2 separate regions of the Homo sapiens genome follow, and region 2 is linked to region 1. Evidence: promoter capture Hi-C in 16 types of primary human blood cells and fetal thymus (Javierre and others, 2016). All regions are on one chromosome and are shown on one strand. The core of a region is centred on a gene start or on the middle of the fragment in contact, and the rest is flanking DNA. Distances in the headings are between cores, read along the strand shown. Region 1 holds the start of PCDHA3 (protocadherin alpha 3). Region 2 overlaps PCDHB1 (protocadherin beta 1).

What was found. Contacts are between HindIII fragments. The CHiCAGO score rates a contact against its expected background, and 5 or more counts as called.
Region 2: a contact is called between a fragment that was not itself captured here and the fragment with the promoter of PCDHA3 in region 1, in 1 of 17 cell types (M2 macrophages). The highest score is 6.4, in M2 macrophages.

The regions. Positions count from the first base shown.
Region 1 is chr5:140,798,345-140,803,159 of GRCh38, reverse strand. PCDHA3 (protocadherin alpha 3) reads right to left here and starts at 2,103. Exons shown (of 4, transcript NM_018906.3): 1 at 1-2,103. The coding sequence starts at 1,962. All of the region lies in intron 1 of PCDHA1 (protocadherin alpha 1), which reads right to left. The region is part of intron 1 of PCDHA2 (protocadherin alpha 2); the gene reads right to left. It also overlaps PCDHA@. The HindIII fragment of the contact is 7,276 bases long and covers 1-4,127 here.
Region 2 is chr5:141,056,981-141,061,795 of GRCh38, reverse strand. It overlaps PCDHB1 (protocadherin beta 1), which reads right to left. Exons shown (of 1, transcript NM_013340.4): 1 at 2,450-4,815. It overlaps PCDHB1-AS1 (PCDHB1 antisense RNA 1), which reads left to right. Exons shown (of 4, transcript NR_105056.2): 2 at 3,946-4,046. It also overlaps PCDHB@. Among named protein-coding and RNA genes, the nearest start is that of PCDHB1, 8.0 kb to the right of the region's middle. The HindIII fragment of the contact is 6,836 bases long and covers 1-4,815 here.

The sequences.
Region 1 (4,815 bases), core at 854-3,353:
GTGGTCCTTCACCAGCACCAGTAGGCGATGGCGCGGGGCGTCCACCTCGTCCAGGGCACGGGTCGTGCTGATCTCTCCCGTGTACAGCCCCACGCGAAACGGGATGCGCGCACCGCCGGTCCCAGGCTGCAGCTCATACGAAAGCCACGCGTTGTAGCCTGAGTCTGCATCCACTGCGCGCACCTTCGCTACCACGTGGCCCGCACCCACTGACCGCGGCACCAGCTCGCTCACTGCGCCACCGATGCCACCCACCCGAGGCATCAGCAGTGCCGGCGCGTTGTCGTTCTCGTCCAGCACGAACACCTGCAGCGTCACGTTGCTGCCCAGAGGCGGCACGCCCGCATCGCGCGCACTCACCTGGAACTGCAGCAGCTCTAGCTCCTCGTGGTCCAGCGGCTGCAGCGCGTACACCTTGCCGCTCTCCGCGTGTACCGACACGTAGCTCGACAGCGCGCGCTCCCCCACCCGCCGTTCCACCAGCGAGTAGGACACCAGGGCGTTCTCCTGCGCGTCCGCGTCCCGCGCAGACACCGTGAAGATGTGGCAGCCCGGCGGGTTGTTCTCCTTCACGAACACCGTGTACTCGGACTGCGAGAATGCCGGCGCATTGTCGTTCACGTCGGCCACCTCCACGGACACGCTGGCCGTGGCCCACAGTGAAGGCGAGCCCCCGTCCCGAGCAGTCACCACCAGCTCATAGGCCGACACGCTCTCGCGGTCCAGAGGGCTGTCCAGCACCAATGAGTAGTAATTCTTGAAGGTGGACACCAGCTTGAAGGGGACGTGGGGCGTCAGCGAGCAGGTGACCTGTCCATTGACTCCTGAGTCGCGGTCGGACACGCTGATCAGAGCGATGACTGTGCTAAGTGGAGAGTCTTCTAATACAGGTAAAGATAGTGATTGAATAACTAACTCAGGTACATTATCATTGATGTCCACAATTTCGAGTAGAACTGTGCAGTGATCTGACATTGGGGGATTTCCTTTATCCGTGGCTTCTACCTGGATTTCATATGACTTACTTTCCTCGAAATCTATGTTACCCTTTACACTGATTTGTCCATTGACTGGATCTAAATGGAATTTTGACAGAATATCTGCTGACATGTCCGTATTGAAAGAATACGCGATATCCTTATTTACTCCTTCATCCAAATCGGTGGCGTTAACGGTCACCACTAGGGTACCATTTGGTGCATTTTCGAGTAATCTGACTTTATAGATCGTCCTCTCAAACGCTGGGGCGTTGTCGTTTACATCTAAAACAGTGATCTTTAGTTGAGTCGTGCCAGTGAGCTCTGGTTTCCCACCATCAATTGCTGTTATTAGTAAATAATGCTTAGGAGTGTCCTCTCGATTTAAATTTTTTTTCAACACGAGTCCAAGGGATTTAATTTCCTCATCATTTCTTTTAACGTCCAAGGTAAAATATTCAGTGGAATCAAGACTGTAAGTCAACAACGAATTTGTTCCGATATCTGCATCTGATGCGCCCTCTAGCGAAAACCGAGAGCCAGGCTGTCGGGATTCGGAAATAAACAGATTCTTTACAGCCATTGGAAAAACTGGCGCGTTGTCATTAATGTCCTTCACTTCCACCTCCACATGGAAAACCTGCAGCGGCCTGTCCACGATCACCTCCAGGTGGATGCTGCACTCCGCGCTCCGCCCGCACAGTTCCTCGCGGTCTATCCGAGAATTCACAAACAAAATGCCATTCTGCAGATTTACCTCCAGAAGGTCCCCGTGTCTTTTGGACGCCACCCGGAACAGGCGCGGCACCAGCTCCGCCAGCTCCAGCCCCAGGTCCTGCGCGATGCGGCCCACGAAGGTGCCATGCTTGGCCTCCTCAGAGACGGAGTAGTGGAGCTGGCCGCTCCCCACCTCCGAGGCTGCGAGGAGCAGAAGAGAAAGCAGCAGGCACTGGGCTCCAGGATCTTCTCGCCAGGAGAACAACATTGCAAGTATTTTCCAAATATTAGATTGCCTTTACATTGATCCAAAGTTTAAAAATAATTCGAGTTCCTTATCTTCATTTCTTAAACTCCTCGGTGTTAAATTTTAGAGAGGATGAAGCAAAGCAGTATCTGAATACGTAATGCACGCTGTTATTTCTTTTGTGGAGAAAGACCTTGTGGTGGACAGCGACATCATGTGGCTAAACGTGTAAGTATTAAATATGTAAACGTATCTTCTTTTCCTTGTATGTCGTTTGAACTTTCCCAAAATTTCTAGTTTCAATTGTAATATCCTTCGGTCACTCCTCAAAGTCCTTATATTTTATCTAAATATTTCCTTAGAACTTTTATACTAATTCACTATCAATTGTGCTAATTCATGACATACACTAAAATATTGTGATTCCTGTTTTAACAGTGGACATCTATTGGAAATATTTCCCATGTGACAGCCACTTTTCTATTTGTCTTAATGGAATTATCCCGTTAAATTATCACAATCCTCTGAAATAAGTTTTAATATTATTCGCTTTTTATAAACACATAGAGGTTAAGTAAAACGATATTATCTCTTGGTACGATGGGATTTCAATCTGATTCAAGACAACTTACCATTAACCTCTTTACCACCCAAGTTACATTTTATAGAAAAATCAGATCCTTTCAGATTTATGATCATCAAAACATTGAGATGTTGAAGTATTTAAAAGTGTGTGTGTGCTGTATATATTAAAACATACATATATCTACTTTTATGTTATTACAGCAACTGTTAATTTCTTAAAATATGTACATTTATGGTTTTTTAAATTTGTAGAATGTCTGTAATTCCCTCCCATGCCCCTTTTTCAAGAACTATAGCCTCATCAACTGTCTTGACTGTAACTTACATAAAGATTTCAGAAGTCGGTCCTTTACAGAGAAATTCAAACAGGAAATTTGTTTCCTATTGTGGGAATGTGATTTGTATATTTGTTACACTCACATCACATCAATTAAGAATATATTAGGTTTAATTTTTCCACACTCTTTATGTATTTGAATTTACCTGTATATACTAAAATGTTAACAATATAAAGTAATTACGTTTTTGATGATCTCCACTCCTGATGAATTTCTAGATTCCAGTTTTTTTAAAAGTTGTTACTTGAAAGAATTGATTATTTAACTAAACAGTGAAGGGAGAAAAGTAACCTAGGAACATAAGCCAGTATTTACTCAACATATTTAACACTAAGCAATAAAACATTCTAAAGATATCTGTGAATTCAATGAGAAGCATGAATTCTCGCCGCATTTGGAAGTGGGGCAAAGAAAATTTATGGAAAGAGGTCAAATTTAGAGAAATAAAATAATGTACAAATTTTTGCTTATACCCAGACCATTTAAAAATGAAATCAAACATGTGATTTAAATATTTAGGGGAAAAGTTTTCATTTCAGCTTTTGTTTCCTGTGTATTCATGAAATGGAAGCCAGGACTGCAACTTACTCAGATTTTATCATTCATATTTAGAATAGGATAAATTATCAATTGTTGTTTTCATGAATAAATAAATTAATATTTTGAATTAACTTTTTCAAGCAAGATAAATAAAAATGTAAGTTAATGATATTTGTTAATATCAAACTTACATAATTTCTAAATGATTATATTGTGCTATATTATGAAGAAGTAAGTAAACATTTAAGCATTATTTCTGAAAAGCATGGACCTAAGAAATAATTATAGCTATTAATATTCCAGTTACCACTTTGCTGAATTTTTAAAGATGGTAGCTAGTTTGAAAATAAGAGATAAATTTAAAATTTTTAAACTTCATGGACTTCATAGTAATGAGATGCCTTTGACAACTTATTGTAATACTGCACTTTTCAGTACCTTTAAGAGTTATACTAATTGCAAAATGGAATGTCACATGAGAATTTATAGCAGAGTAGACTCCATACTGATTATTAAGAGATAAAGGTAATATTAAAGGAACTATGAGTTTAGAAGATTGAGCCATTTTGTAGATAAAGTATCAGTGAATAATTTCTACTACCACCTAGATGTCACTTAGACAACCAAGAAAAAATGTAAATAAGAATGTTTTGAAAAAACTTATAGAGCAACAGATTGTGACTCCTGGAGATTTGGATATATGTGAATATAATTTTAGAAGCTTATCATTTACCTATGGTAGAAACATAGTGGTCAAGTATTACTTGGAAATGGATATTCTGACCTAACTATGAAATGGCTAAAGGTAAGATCACTAGTGGAAGTTATTTCTATGATTTATCAATATGCACATATATTTAGAATAAACAGCAAATAACTAAGAACTAAATAGTAGAGGACCGTTTAAGACAGTTATTTTATTGCAATACATCTGCCTTTGGTTGGAAAAGCTAAAAAAGTTCTTTCCAAGTGTAACATTTACTTGTCGAGTTCAGTGTTATAATTACCCAAAATAAATGTTTCAAGTGAAAATGTAGTCATCCAAGACCAGGCCTCATCTTTTGGAAAAATTCCAATTTCATTAGGAATATGGATGCTTCCAGGTAAAATTGAGTGAGCTCACATTAATGGAAAATGTATTCCCACGCATAGAATTAGATGCCAGAAAAAAGTAGTCAATCTCTGCAGTGGGAGGCCTGCACACATTGGCCTAATGATAATGATACTGAAAGGATGATTTATCAACCATTAACATAAAGACTGGGTAGTCTCCACTTAAATGAAGAAAAAGTCCCACCACCTGAAAAACCCCAGTGTGATTTTTAAATGTTAATATTTTCAAATTAAACAAAATTGAGAGGGTCTCTTTTCTCAATACTCTCTATTTTTGCCTGATAACTCAAAAATGTTA
Region 2 (4,815 bases), core at 1,357-3,856, 260 kb before region 1:
CTCAGCCTTTGAGTCTTTCTACCTGAGGCCTCAGGCATCACAGAGCAGAGACAATTCATCCTCATTGGGTCTTGTCTGAATCCCTGATCCATGGAGTCCCTGAGCATAATATGTCTGTTCTATGCCTTTAAGTTTCAGTGTGGTTTATCACAGTAGATAACATCTTTAAATACTCTTTCGTAATTTGTATCTTTTTGTTCAGTTATTGGGCAGATCTTAAAAATCTTCCTTTATCTCAGATAAAAGGGTTTACTGAACAACAAAGGGTTATTCTGAACAAACAGGGTTTACTGAACAACAAAATAAGGGTTGTTGAAAGGGTTTACTGAACAACAAAATAAATGATAGAATTGAATTATAACCTAAATAATAGAGTAAATATCCACGTGTCCATATATAATTCCATAGTTACATACCAATTTACTAATTTAGTCTTCATTAGCTTCCAGATTGAAGTTTATACTATCTATTGAGGTTTTATTACAATTAATAAGTTTCATTTCTAAAATTTCTGGTTGGCTATATTTATATGGATCCATTCTTACTTTATTTCAGTCTTTTTTTATTTCATAACTTACTATCTTTGGTGGGTATAACTTCTAAATTCATCTCTGCAAGCATCTTAAACAGTTTTATGTTGAATGACACTTTTTGAAAATGTCTTCCTTTTCATTCCTTTCTCTACTTATGTCCATTTCCTAGACCCTGGACATGGTCTAGAATCAGGTTGTATAGTAATGATTTGGGCTTCTGACCCAGCATGGTACTGGAAATAGTACAGATGACTACATTAAGTCTGTTGGCTACAGAGCCCAGTACATATTCTGGATGTTGTTTCTGTGTCCTCCAGCCTTCATAGGCCTGCAACATACCATAATGTATAGCTTCAGGAATTTTTTGGCAATGGCTTTTCAACCTTCCTTGACCCATCCTACCTCTTGGCTCTAACCAATGACACTGGCTTTTATTCTCCATTTTTCATGGTGAACATTTTGTTCCTGAGAGCCCATAAGAGCCAAACCAATGGTAGCCTATGCCAACTTCCCATCCTGATAGCTTGGAAATCCAAGGATTTTATCCCCACTTACCATTTTATGTCTGTTTCATTTCTGGTTTTCCTTGTTTTTGGTTTTTTTTTTTTTTTTTTTTTTGAGATGGAGTCTCACTCTGTCGCCCAGGCTGGAGTGCAGTGGTGTAATCTCGGCTCACTGCAACCTCTGCCTCCTGGCTTCAAGCGATTCTTATGCCTCAGCCTCCTGAGTAGGTGGGATTACAGGTGCATGCCACCACGCCCAGCTAATTTTTGTATTTTGTAGTAGAGACAGGGTTTCACCATGTTGGCCAAGCTGGTCTCGAACTCCTGACCTTGGCCACCCACCTCAGCTTCCCAAAGTGCTGGGATTACAGGCATGAGCCACCGTGCCTGGCCTTGCATTTTTTTTTTTTTGGCCAGGGGCGGGTAGTGGGGGGTACGGAGTTTAGCTCTTGTTGCCCAGGCTGGAGTGCAATGGCCTGATCTCGGCTCACTGCATCCTCCGCCTCCTGGGTTCAAGCGATTCTCCTGTCTCAGCCTCCCAAGTAGCTGGGATTACAGGTTCATGCCACCACACCTGGCTAATTTTTGTATTTTTAGTAGAGACGGGGTTTCATCATATTGGTCAGGCTGGTCTCGAACTCCTGACCTCAGGTGATCCGCCTGCCTTGGCCTTCTGGGATTACAGGTGCAAGCCACCACGCCCAGCCGCATTTTTTTTAATTTTTAATTTTTACCTGTTACTGCTGTATTTAGAGCAGAGCGTGGTACACAGAAGCATAAACTTACTTCACCAGCTTGACCAGAAAACTTTTGTTACTTTCACTTTTTCACATTCTGTTTCAGTGGTTTTTTTGTTTGTTTGTTTTTGGGGGTTTTTTTGTTTGTTTTTTTGAGACTGAGTCTTACTCTGTTGCCCAGGCTAGAGCGTGGTGGCATGATGTGAGCTCACTGCAATCTCTGCCTCCTGGGTTCAAGCAATTCTCGTGCCTCAGCCTCCCAAGTAGCTGGGACTACAGGTGTGAGCCACCATGCCTGGCTAATTTTTGTATTTTTAGTAGAGAGGGGTTTCCACCGTGTTGGCCAGGCTGGTCTCGAACTCCTGACCTCAGGTGATCTCCCCACCTTGGCCTCCCAAAGTGTTGGGATTACAGGTGTGAGCCACCATGCCCGGCCTGTTTCAGTGTTATATAAACACAACAAATACTTTAATAATGTTTTTTAAAAGTGTTACACATATTTGAAAATGAAGTCAGACTTTTGGTTGAAGAATGAATGTCCACTTAGTCACATACTTTGAAGATATTAAACTCTACAGAAAATAGCTATTTATATGGGATAATCATATGAATGAATTATGCTTCCAAGAATAAGACAAATTCATCCCTAAATGGAAAACAACAAAAAATGCACAAACATGATAAAGAAATTCTTTATTTTTAGGAGAATTACATAATATCAGACAGACCAATTCCATTTTTTGTATATCTGTAAGTCTAATTTCAGCATATAAGTCTATTTTTAAATAGTATCTCAGGTATATATAGCTTAAACTATATAAACATGTCTGCACAACAAATTTTAAAATTTTCAGTTTATATCTATTTTAAAATGTATGACTAATTTAAAATTATGTTAGTATAATTTTCATTTAAAGTTAAAACTTTATGCATGAACCTTAATGGGGTTACTTTATGATTGTTTAAAATAATCTAACATGTAGAGTTACAAAGAAATACTAATTTTGATAAAAATGTATTCTATATGGATAATTCCAGTCTTAAAAATCTGCTCTTCATCTCAGATAAAAGAGTTTGCTGAACAACAAAGTAAATGATAGGATTAGTTTGTAACCCAAATAATAGAGGAGATATCCAGGTATCCTTATGTAAAGAAATAACTAACTAAATAAGTGGGGGGGAAAGTAACAAGTTTTCCTTCCAGAAGAATTTTAATTAATGTAAAAGGAAATAGAGAAATAGAAAATCACCATTAGAATGCCACAATATTAATTGCCACAGGAAATATCTAGCAATGGATACTAAAATTGGTTTAAGCAGAAACATCATATTTGCATAGTTTCAAAGCATATCCCCCAAGTGTTTATTAATTACAAAGAGAAAAAAGTAACTTTATAGTAGAGAAACGTGGCAGACATTATGTTAACCAAGCGATCAAAATTAACATCACCTTAACATTACTTAAAAATGGCTAACATACTTAAAAATGGCTAACATGGTACATTTTATAAGTTCTTTACCACAATAAAAGAAAAAAGATTAATATCACCAGTAGTGTGACATTGGCATCACATACCTGCTGACGTGATGCACTGAAAAGGATACAATATCATTTCTGCAGTATTTTTCCCAATAATGCATTACCTCAGTTTAATAATGAGAAAACAAAGAATCCCAAACTGAGGGGCATTCTACAAATAACTGGCTAGTACTCTTCAAAAATCTCAAGTCATGATAGACAAGGTAAGAGTAAGGAACTGTCACAGGTGGTAGAGACTAAGGAGCCATAACAAATGCTTTGCAGGATCCTGGATTGGATCCTTGAATAGAAAAAGGACATTGGGGGAAAACTGTTAAATTTGAATAAGATCTGTAGTTTACTTCATAGAATTATACCAAGGTTAATTTCTTAATTTTGATAACTACTATGGTTATATAAGATGTTAGCATTCCGGGAAGTTAGGTGAAGGATATACAGGAACTATCTATAGTATTTTTGCAATTTTATGAGTCTAGAATTATTTCCTAATAAAAAGCCTTTTTGTACAAGACACTTTTCAAGGTTCTTAGGTTATAGCTTTGAATACATAGAAATAGTTATAATATCACTTGACACTTTGGAGAGAGTAATTGCCCTAATTATTTCCATTCTTTGTCTTAATTTGCTGATAGAGACCTGGACTTAATCTCAGCTGGTGTACAGAGTTCTCTCCAAAAACAAGTGGCCTACTTCACATTCAGTGAATTGATATATTCTTATTTTAAGTTATCAGGTAGGATTGGAATTTTCTTGGGAACTTGAAGTCTGAATAAAATTAGAGTGACAAAATTTTCACCTAAGGCAAAAATAAGAAAAATGGTGGCAAAATAATTTTTTATTAAATCGATACATTTTTTAAATTTAAAGGATGGTTTCTTTTATGAGATTGTTATCTTACCTTTTTTTTTCTTTTTTCTTTTTTTCTTTTTTTTTTTTTTTTTTGAGACAGAGTCTTGCTTTGTCGCCAGGCTGGAGTGCAGTGGCATGATCTCAGCTCACTGCAACCTCCACCTCCTGGGTGCAAGCAATTCTCCTGCCTCAGCCTCCCAAGTAGCTGGGACTACAGGCACATACCACCACACCCAGCTAATTTTTGTATTTTTAATAGAGACATGGTTTCACCATGTTGGCCAGGATGGTCTCCATCTCTTGACCTTGTGATCCATCTGCCTCAGCCTCCCAAAGTACTGGTATTACAGGTGTGAGCCACCATGCCCAGCCTATCTTAACCATTTTTATATTAAAATGCCATTTCGTTTATGGAATAATGGTGGCGTGAAGTGGTAGATTTTATCTCATTTAATGTGAAAAAATAAAAAGTTGACAAATCTACATCTTCTGTCCATTGTGTATGTGTGTATATATGTATTCATGAATTTCACTGCTATTTGAATATCAAAGTCTTAAAATCATGAATCTACACCATTTTCTTTTCCTATCCTTGACATTAAGCCAGTTTCCATTGATTATGTTCACATCATTAAGTGTAATGAAACACAGTT